2 separate regions of the Homo sapiens genome follow, and region 1 is linked to region 2. The links are contacts of gene promoters, found by promoter capture Hi-C in human tissues and cell types (Jung and others, 2019). All regions are on one chromosome and are shown on one strand. Each heading gives the region's core, a stretch centred on a gene start or on the middle of the fragment in contact. The rest is flanking DNA. Distances are from core to core; before and after follow the strand shown.

What was found. The method cuts DNA at HindIII sites, captures the fragments that hold promoters and counts their contacts. A contact is called where the count stands out against the background at its distance.
Region 1: a contact is called between a fragment that was not itself captured here and the fragment with the promoter of GRIK2 in region 2, in 2 of the 25 tissues and cell types used here (dorsolateral prefrontal cortex and mesendoderm cells).

What each region holds. Positions count from the first base shown.
Region 1 is chr6:101,795,048-101,799,410 of GRCh38, forward strand. All of the region lies in intron 7 of GRIK2 (glutamate ionotropic receptor kainate type subunit 2), which reads left to right. Among named protein-coding and RNA genes, the nearest start is that of GRIK2, 400 kb to the left of the region's middle. The HindIII fragment of the contact is 6,851 bases long and covers 1-4,363 here.
Region 2 is chr6:101,391,743-101,396,142 of GRCh38, forward strand. GRIK2 (glutamate ionotropic receptor kainate type subunit 2) reads left to right here and starts at 1,966. Exons shown (of 17, transcript NM_021956.5): 1 at 1,966-2,095. The HindIII fragment of the contact is 9,322 bases long and covers 1,622-4,400 here.

The DNA of each region.
Region 1 (4,363 bases), core at 1,825-4,324, 400 kb after region 2:
GTAGAGACCAGGTTTCATCATGTTGTTTAGGCTGGCCTCAAACTCCTGACTTCAGGTGATCCATCCACCTCGGCCTCCCAAAGTGTTGGAATTACAGATGTGAGCCACCATACCCGGCCAGCTTTTTTCAATTTTTTTGGATGGATTTTCATAAGGGAAAATTTTTCCTATGGATTTATCTATGGTATTGGTTGAGGGGGCACTTTCGCTTTGATTATAGGGTTAGCAGTAGCATAGTCCTCATATGATTTTTACAGCATCAGTGGTGTCTGTGATTTCCGTTTCTTAGACTGTGATTATTAGTGGAGACTGTGTTGAAATTTTACTGGGTGTAGGAGTGCCAGGTAGTTCAGTCCTGAGGCCCAGTGGTGTTATCAGTGGGCTAAGTGTGCCTGTCTTTAGGCTCCTGTGTGGCATACAAGGGCACGTGTGTTAGTGGGCTCAGGTGGGCCAATTGTTGGGCCTCCAGGAAGCTTGCTTCGGTTCAGTAGTGGCAGCAGTGGGCATGTGTGTGGTGAATTCCTGGGCCCCTAAGCAGTATGCATGGCATGAGAAATAGCAGTAGTGATGGTGGGACCACCCTTGGACTCTCAGGCATCACATACTGGTGTTTGCAGTGCCTGCAACAGGCTGGATGGACCAGCCCTCAGGAGAAGTGCACGGACACCAGCAGTGGTGAACAAGGCAGGGCTGTTCTCAGGTCCCTGGGTGGCATGCTTGGGTACTTGGGGGATAGTGCCAGGGGTGTGGGCCTGCCCTTAGTGTCCCCTGATGGGTGCATGGGAATAGGCTGTGGTGAATAGGACAGGGCAATCTCCATGCCCCAGGTATAACAATGTATTTCTTTTTTACAAATATGCATTTACCAGTTTTCTATAATCTCTACCTTTTCTTATTTTGCAGTGCATTTTCATTATGTATTTATGAAAAAATTATATAGAGATTTATGCATTCAAGTGCTTGTTGACATTTGTTACATTGTGTAACTACAAAACCACCTTCACTACTTTGCTTATTAACCATAGAGTGTTGAGTGAGAAACCCAGAGAAAAGGATATAAACTTTGGACAGATTATATGGATTAAATCCAGCTCTACGTCTATATGCTATGGTTTGTTTTTTGAGTTACTTAGCTGCTGTCTGCCTTGGTTTCCTATTTGACACATACTTGATGGGATTGCACCTGAATAATGGTTATGGAAATTAAAGGAATTAATTTAAGGAGAGTGCCTCACACACAGATATTGAATGAATGTTGGCTATTAATATTATTAATAGAAGACAGATTTTCACATATTTGTGAGAATAAGAGAAGGCACATTTTTGTGAGCATTCTTGTGAGAATAAGAGAAACCACATTTCTGAAGCACTAGAATTTTCACACGGTTTTTCAAAGGAAGGAGATTTATAGACACACAATTTTACAAAGAAGACAATAGTTTAATCTGACAAGATATTAAATATAAATAGAAAAATCTACATAATATCACCAAAACAACTAGTCTAAAATTAAAACCAAAAAGTACCCCAAACTGGAGAAAATATCATAGAAAGTATTTCAGAAGTTCTGTTTATTGATTTATAAGTAAAGATATTTTAAACTGGGAAATCCAGAAGTAGTTTGATCAGCGACTTTTAGATTACTTGTACCTTTTTCTCAAGGATTTATATTTTATTGTTACAGACAGTAGTCTCACCATTTTGCCCAGACTGGGCTCAAACTTCAGGGCTCAAGTGATCCTCTTACCTTACCCTTCCAAGTAGCTGGGCTACAGATGTGTGCCACTGTGCCCAGCTATATTTATCTTATAGTTTAATAATATTATCTAATTTTTATAATTGTACTTAAAATAACAGATTTCAAAGAGTTTTATTAGCAACTACTGTGTCCTGATCTTGAAACTGAAACTATATACCAGAAAAGATTTTTTGATTTTTAATTAGGCAAAATTATTTTCTAGCATTGTCATATTAAATAAGGTTACTACTCTAGGATTTTTATGTATGTCCTGTTAGATTATCTATATGTCAGTAAGTCATGAAAAGCAATTTTCATGAAAACTTGGAATTAGAAATATTATAGATTGTATTCTTTTAGTTATTTTTTCCATAATAGATCAACATTTTTATCTTGGCAATAACTGCTATAGTTTTTGTAATCTTCCTCATACATTACGTGTTAATCTTAAAAACTGTGGAAAATATGAAATAAAAATTTTACTCATGATTAATTCACAAGAGTTAAACATTATTATTTTATTGTGTTTTCTTGTTTTTGTTGTTTATATAGTATGTAGTGGTGGCCAAAAGCATTCCTGAACAGGGAGGGTGGGCTTCCCCACTTGTTAGCTGTGTGATTTCAATTAGTTCTTCACTTTTCCCAACCTTGGTTTTGTTATTTATAAAATGTTAACAATAGATTTTTTATTATACTATTATTCAGAGAATAAAGTAAATATATTAATTACCCATATATAAGTATACATGCATGTGTATTTTAGATATTCTATTTAATTTATAAATATATATTGCTTTATAAGGTAATACTTCATATTACTCTATAAATATATATTATCTGTACATATATTTATAAAGTAAATATATATTATGCTGTATTTCCATAATAAACCATTATATATTTTTTTTATGTATATATTACATATAATAGTTTATATTATATATAAAATAATGGTTATATATTAATAATGGTTTTATATATTATATATTATATATTACATACTATATATAATATATGAAACCATTATATATTATATATAAAACCATTATTTATACATTTATATATATAAAATGATTTATGCTGGAAATGCAGTTCTGTATAATCTAAATCTAATTTAACACAACACCATTTAAGATGTATTTAATTTCCATCTAGTTGAGTATTTTTCAAAACATGATTTTTTAGTGCTTATATAAGAAAACATCGTGAATTTATTTAGAAATTTCCCTATTTTGGTCATTCAGTAGATTTCCACTCTTTTTTTTTTTTTTTCTAAAAACAAAACAATGGATATGTAGCCTTCATTCTTAGCTCCGATTTTCTTAATGCTAATTCCAGAAAGAGGAATTACTGGGTTAAAATAAACATAAATATTTTTAAGGCTCTCTTACGTTTTGTGCTGCAAAATTACCCTTTCTGTTGACAGTTATATATTTTAAAACGCTCAAAATGTATCTTCCCAATTCTGTTGATGATTTTTGTGACTACCTGTGTAATATATGTAATATGTCCTCTGAATATTAACTCGGGTCAGAGACAAATATCAGTCAAATCCTCAGGCTCAGGATGTATGCCTCAATGAACACTACTAGTTTTCACTATGCATCCTTCAGGGTATGTGAAAATAGTCAGTAGAATTTATAAAATGAAGGTTTGGAATCTGAGTTATTTTCCCAAGAGATTTATGAACTATAAAATAATATTATTATGTTCTCTTATTGCATTGTGCTCTTTAGCCATCTTCCATTTTATGTGGTATAGCTCCTTAGGATCCATTTGGTTGAAAGCTACTGTGTATACTCATTTTGTATTGTATTGTGGCAAATGCTGTAATCTACAGGGTTCCTATTCATTTCACAGCTCACTAATTGTGTGAATGAGAAGAGGAAATATATGCTTTTATTCTAAAGCATGCCAAGCAGATGGCCAAAGTTCATTACTAGGAGCATTGTCAGTGTGGCTGTCTTTTCTAGGTAGTAAGCCTGGCATCGATCTGTCAAACACAGAGTGAGGGTCCATTTAACACAGCACTTGAAAATCACTGAGCCTCTGTTTTGTTATGACTTATAAACATTTTATTTTTTTATCATCAACCTCCAAAGTGGTTGGTCATTTGAGCAGGTGCAAACACAGTAGAATTCATATTTGTTTTACCTGAGAAGCCAAATGAACTTTTATTCATATGGAAATCTTGGGGAAAGGAAACCGTACAAGAGATTAAGCTTAGTTTCTTGAAAAGCGGGTAATACAGCTATTGAGATTCAAAACTACCATCATTTCTGAGATTGAAACTTTTGAAAATTTAAGTTGAAGAAAAAGATCAGGGTTTATATCTTTTTAAAGCTAAAAGATTAAAACAATGAAAGAATTTAAGGTTTTAAGTAAGTCTCCCTTAAAATCTTGGTTTCTTCCTATAAAAGGAAACTGTTTACTTACTTTTATATAGAATATGTAATTTATGTGACCATTAAAAATGTTAGCAATGTACTCATTGTGTGTGTGTGTGTGTGTGTGTGTGTGTATAAGTGAGACAGAGTAAGAATCAGAGATAGTGACAAAAAGGAAATAAAGCCTGTCTTCATACATGTCCTACTTCAACGGCAGTACTAGGACTATATGTAATTG
Region 2 (4,400 bases), core at 716-3,215:
TTTTTTCGGAGCCTGGCCCAAACTCGGCTGTGCCTCGAGGGCCCATTAGGCTGCAGGTCACAGCAGCTGGAGCCCAGGCGCCCAGAACCGGTCACGCGTCTGTGCTGCCCGCTCCAGGATGCACAATAGAGTCATTGACTATTTATTTACTGGGTAGAACAAGGCTGCTGTTGACTTAATTAAGGGAGCCGCCCAGCCACCCCTGGGATCTTCAAATGACTAATGGACTCTCCATTGCCACTAACTCATCTCTCCTTAACATAAGTCCCCAGTCCCCCTCCCCCCAACCCTGCCCCACCCAGGAATGCTCAGTAAGCATGTTGTGGGGAACGGGGCGCAGAGAGTCCTGGATGGTGACCAAGAGGGAAAGACTGGCGGTTTTGGCAGGACTGAATTTCTGTGTTTCAGAGCTATTCTGAGCCAGGCGCTAGCCTCAGGGTGTGGAACATGGCCCTGCTGCGCCAGGGTCCGGCGAGGGCTTAACTTTACTAGGGCTGCAGTGAAGGAGGAAGCAAAAGGGCAAGTTCTGGTCTCCAGCTCAGACAACGGGTCCCTGGGGACTCAGAGCCTCTCTAATTCCCGGACCTCGGAATTAGATAGATAGTGGAGAACCACCAGGGACTGGAACTGCTAGGGGACTGCAGAGCCGTGGAATCCCCCCTGGCCCCTTCTTTATGCAGCCCGTTTGAAATGGTCTCTTGAGCCCAGTGCGCCTGGCCTGTTCCCGCTTAGCCTCACTTAAATCTCCTCGCGAATCTGAGCTGGCCAACTTCCTCTGGGGGAAACTGCTAAACTCAGCTCCAGTTAATATTGTAGGGCTGAGGATAAAATAGCAACGGTTTTGAATAGATGTTGACTTTTCCGACCCAGAGGAGCGGAACTCAGGGATTGTTTGCAAAAGCTAATCGTTTCCACAGTGAAGCAGGGAGAGCCTGGTGCGCTCACCGCCGCCAGCCCCTCCCTGGAAGCCAAGCTGCGGGAAGACTCTGGGACTCAGTTGCCCCTCCCCATCTCTGGCCTTTAAAAGAGTCCTCCCGAGAACTTGGACCAGTGGCCGCCAAACCAGGGCTGCTTCCCAGACTCCTGTCTCCAATCTTGGAGTCTGCGACCTCAGGTTCGGCGCCCACTAGATCTCGAATCCAACTTCTTTCTGAAATGTGTTTAGGTTGAGAGTTCCGGGGCCTGGGCGGGAGTTTGGTGGGGAGAGGGGAGTCTGCTATTTAAGGCGCCATACATACACAGAGACAGCCCGCCCGACCTCCTAACACTCAGGAAAAGTCAATTTCCAAGCATCTGTTCTCAATAATGGTGGCAGGGAGCAGGGCACTGTGACTCCCAGCATCTGAGGGAATACCCGCAGCAGCGCTACCAGAGCGCATTTGCTCTATGCGCTGGAGGTCGGGGTGGGAGGGTGCGCAGATCAAGATCTTTTTTTGCGAACCTCAGGGAAATGACCGTAGTTGGACTAAGAGGTCCACTTTGGAGACTACCAGCAGCCCTCCAAGCCCTGGCAGTGGAGAAGTTTCGTTGCTATGGTTTCGGAGAGGCATAAAAGCCATCACCCAGAAGCAAATGTGTTTGGGCTCCTTATATGTGTTGTCACCACCCAAGGCTAGGCAAATTCCTCGGCGCTTTGCATGCATCACTCACTCCCTGACAGAGCATCTTGGCCTTAGTCTCCCCATCCCAGGAGGCGGGTGTGCGCTAAGGGAGCGAAGTCCAGCCGGAGGCTTCGTAACATCCAAGTCTAGGGACACCAGGAATTCTCTCGCTCTAGCTCCTGTGGTCCAGGGGTGGGAGATGCCCCCGAGTGGCCGCGGCGGCCAGGAGCGTGCAGGGGCCACGGGGAAAGGAGCGCGGCGCCTTTAAAGCAAGAGGCGAGGAACCCCCGCCAGGAGGCGTGTCTGTCTCTGCCGCCGCCGCCGCCGCTGCTGCTCCTCGGTCACCGTCTTCGCCGCTGCCGTCACTCGCGCTCGGCGCCGGCGGCTGCGCTGGTCGGTCTGGTAGCTGGGGACTTTTCCGCCCGACCTCCTCCGGCTGCTCCTCCCCGAGGACCACCCCACCCCCTCCCCGCCCACCTCACCCCTAGCTCCAGGTAAGGACTCCCCGGCTGTGGGCTGCACTCCGGGCTCCTTCACGAGGTGTTTGTTTTCAAGAGGACGGGAGGGACTGCGGGTGGGCGAGGGGCATTTTCCACCTGGAGAGAAGGAAGAAGGCGAACAGTAGCGCTGCGGACGTCCGTGCGCTCGGGGCGCCCGCTGGACGGATTCACTGCGAGTCTTTGTCGGGCTTATCTCAGCCAATTCCCGTCAAGCATGCAAGTGGCTCTGTTGGCTGCAGTCGCCTATGTTCTCCACATAAAATGATTTAAGAAGTGGACGTGTCAGGAAGTGGCCTCAGCTACGGGGACTCACGCGAGGCGAAGAGAATGAGACAGATGGCAAGAAGCTGTGTGGCTGCCGGCGGGTCTGACGAACTCCCCATCCCTCCTTCTGCCCACCCATCCTTCCATTAACCCTACTCCTTAGTTCTGCGCTGAGGAAGTATATTTATTTTAACCGGCACCCGTATTAAGAGCTTCTGAAAAAACTTGGAGGGCGTCCCATTAGGGTAAGGAGTGGGCAGTGTTACCAGGGTGGATCATAAACCTCAAGAACTTTTAACGAACCACATCCTCTGATATTTTTACCTTTAAGGAGATAGAGTTTCTTTACCAAACAACACGACCGAGCTGAGGCTCCTTAGAGAATAATTTCCAATTTAGGCAATGGGGAATATTAGAAAACTTACTATTAGTAGCCTTTTGGTAATGCACAGATTATCTTCTATCGTTTATTCATCTCCATACTGTAAGTATTCTGTCATCAGAAATTATCTTATGGATTGATGATTATTTTCATTTCACGAGAGATGATTGGTTCATTTGAGTCTTAATTAGTCAGTTTAGTTACTGAAATAAATGCAATTGTATTTCAATCTTGATTTGTCTTAGTTCATTACTTTCTAACTTTATAGAGTCTATTCCTGTAACCACCAAGGCAGCCTATCAACTTCCAGTGGCCTTAAAAACTTTTGAGTCAAACAAACAACAAAAAATTGAAATGCACAAGAGCAAGGTGATAGAGAATTGAGCAATGTTTGGAAGTCTTATCTGTTTGTTTTCTCCTATTTAAACCCATTGAAAATCACACAGGCTGAAATTTAAAAAAAAAAGTTCTGGGATATGTAAATTTATTCCACTTCAATTTGTTAATTAAGATACACTTATTTTAGTGTCTAAAAATTAATCAAAACTCTAAATGTCATTAATCATCAATGCAGCAGAATGTTGCTGGAACAGCTGATAATGTGTTCAGAATCATAAGGGATACCACAGCATGCATAGTTAAGAAGAGTGAGTTGCAAGTATGCAACAGTGTGATTTCAACTGAAACCTGACTCAGTCCTGACTTTATTCTCTGAGATCTTTAATGCCATGTATAAACAGGCTGTTTGTTTTAGCTAAATTGCTATGCAACAGGCCACTTGCATGGAATAATAGGTTAGGTGTTACTATAAGATGAGGTTTTTCAAATGTCACATAACAGCAGGACTTCCGTGACAAGTCAAGTGGAATCCTTAGTAAGAATTCCATGTGAAAAATTTAAATATAGCTATGGCATGTAAGAACCTTTGAAACATCTTTGAAATTCAGGTTGTTCTGGGGTATGTATTTGCTGTTTCCAGCAAAAGGTATAGGCATTGTCTTTTTAAATGTTGTGCTATAAAGATTATTACACATTTTCTCATACCCCAGCAGGTGGCAGCTAACTAGAATAAGATTCATTTTCACTGGCAGAATAGGAAACTAAAATTGTTTCTCAAGTAATAGTGCCCAAGAATAAGAGGTCATTAGTATCTGCAAATATAAAAATATAGTGAAAGATGAAGCTAGTGGGTTTTTTTGTTATTGTTGGAAGAAGCTTTGCATTAACATGATATGCATTTTCTTCTTTGTCAATTTATCATAGGTTTGATATTTGTGTCAGCCTTCTATGATTTTTTTGAGGTATACTTCTAAATACAGCTTCTCTCTGGGTGTGCGTGTATGTGTGTTTTTGCAGTTTGTTATCTCTGCTTTGACCTTGGAATCTACAGAGCTTTGGCTCATAGAAATAAAGAGTGCCATATGGTTAAAATGAGGAAAAAAATGAGACCATAGAATAAAATATATAAATCTTACTAAGTATATATAATTGCCTGATATCCAATAGCAGTAGTTTTCTCTTTCCTTTAAGGAAGAAGCAAATTACAGAACTGACACAATTTTTAAAAGGGTTAAATCTAGTCAGTGAAATACTGTGTAAGGAATTTATTAATCCTTCATATAACCTCAGAACTATGATGTGTGGTATCAGTAT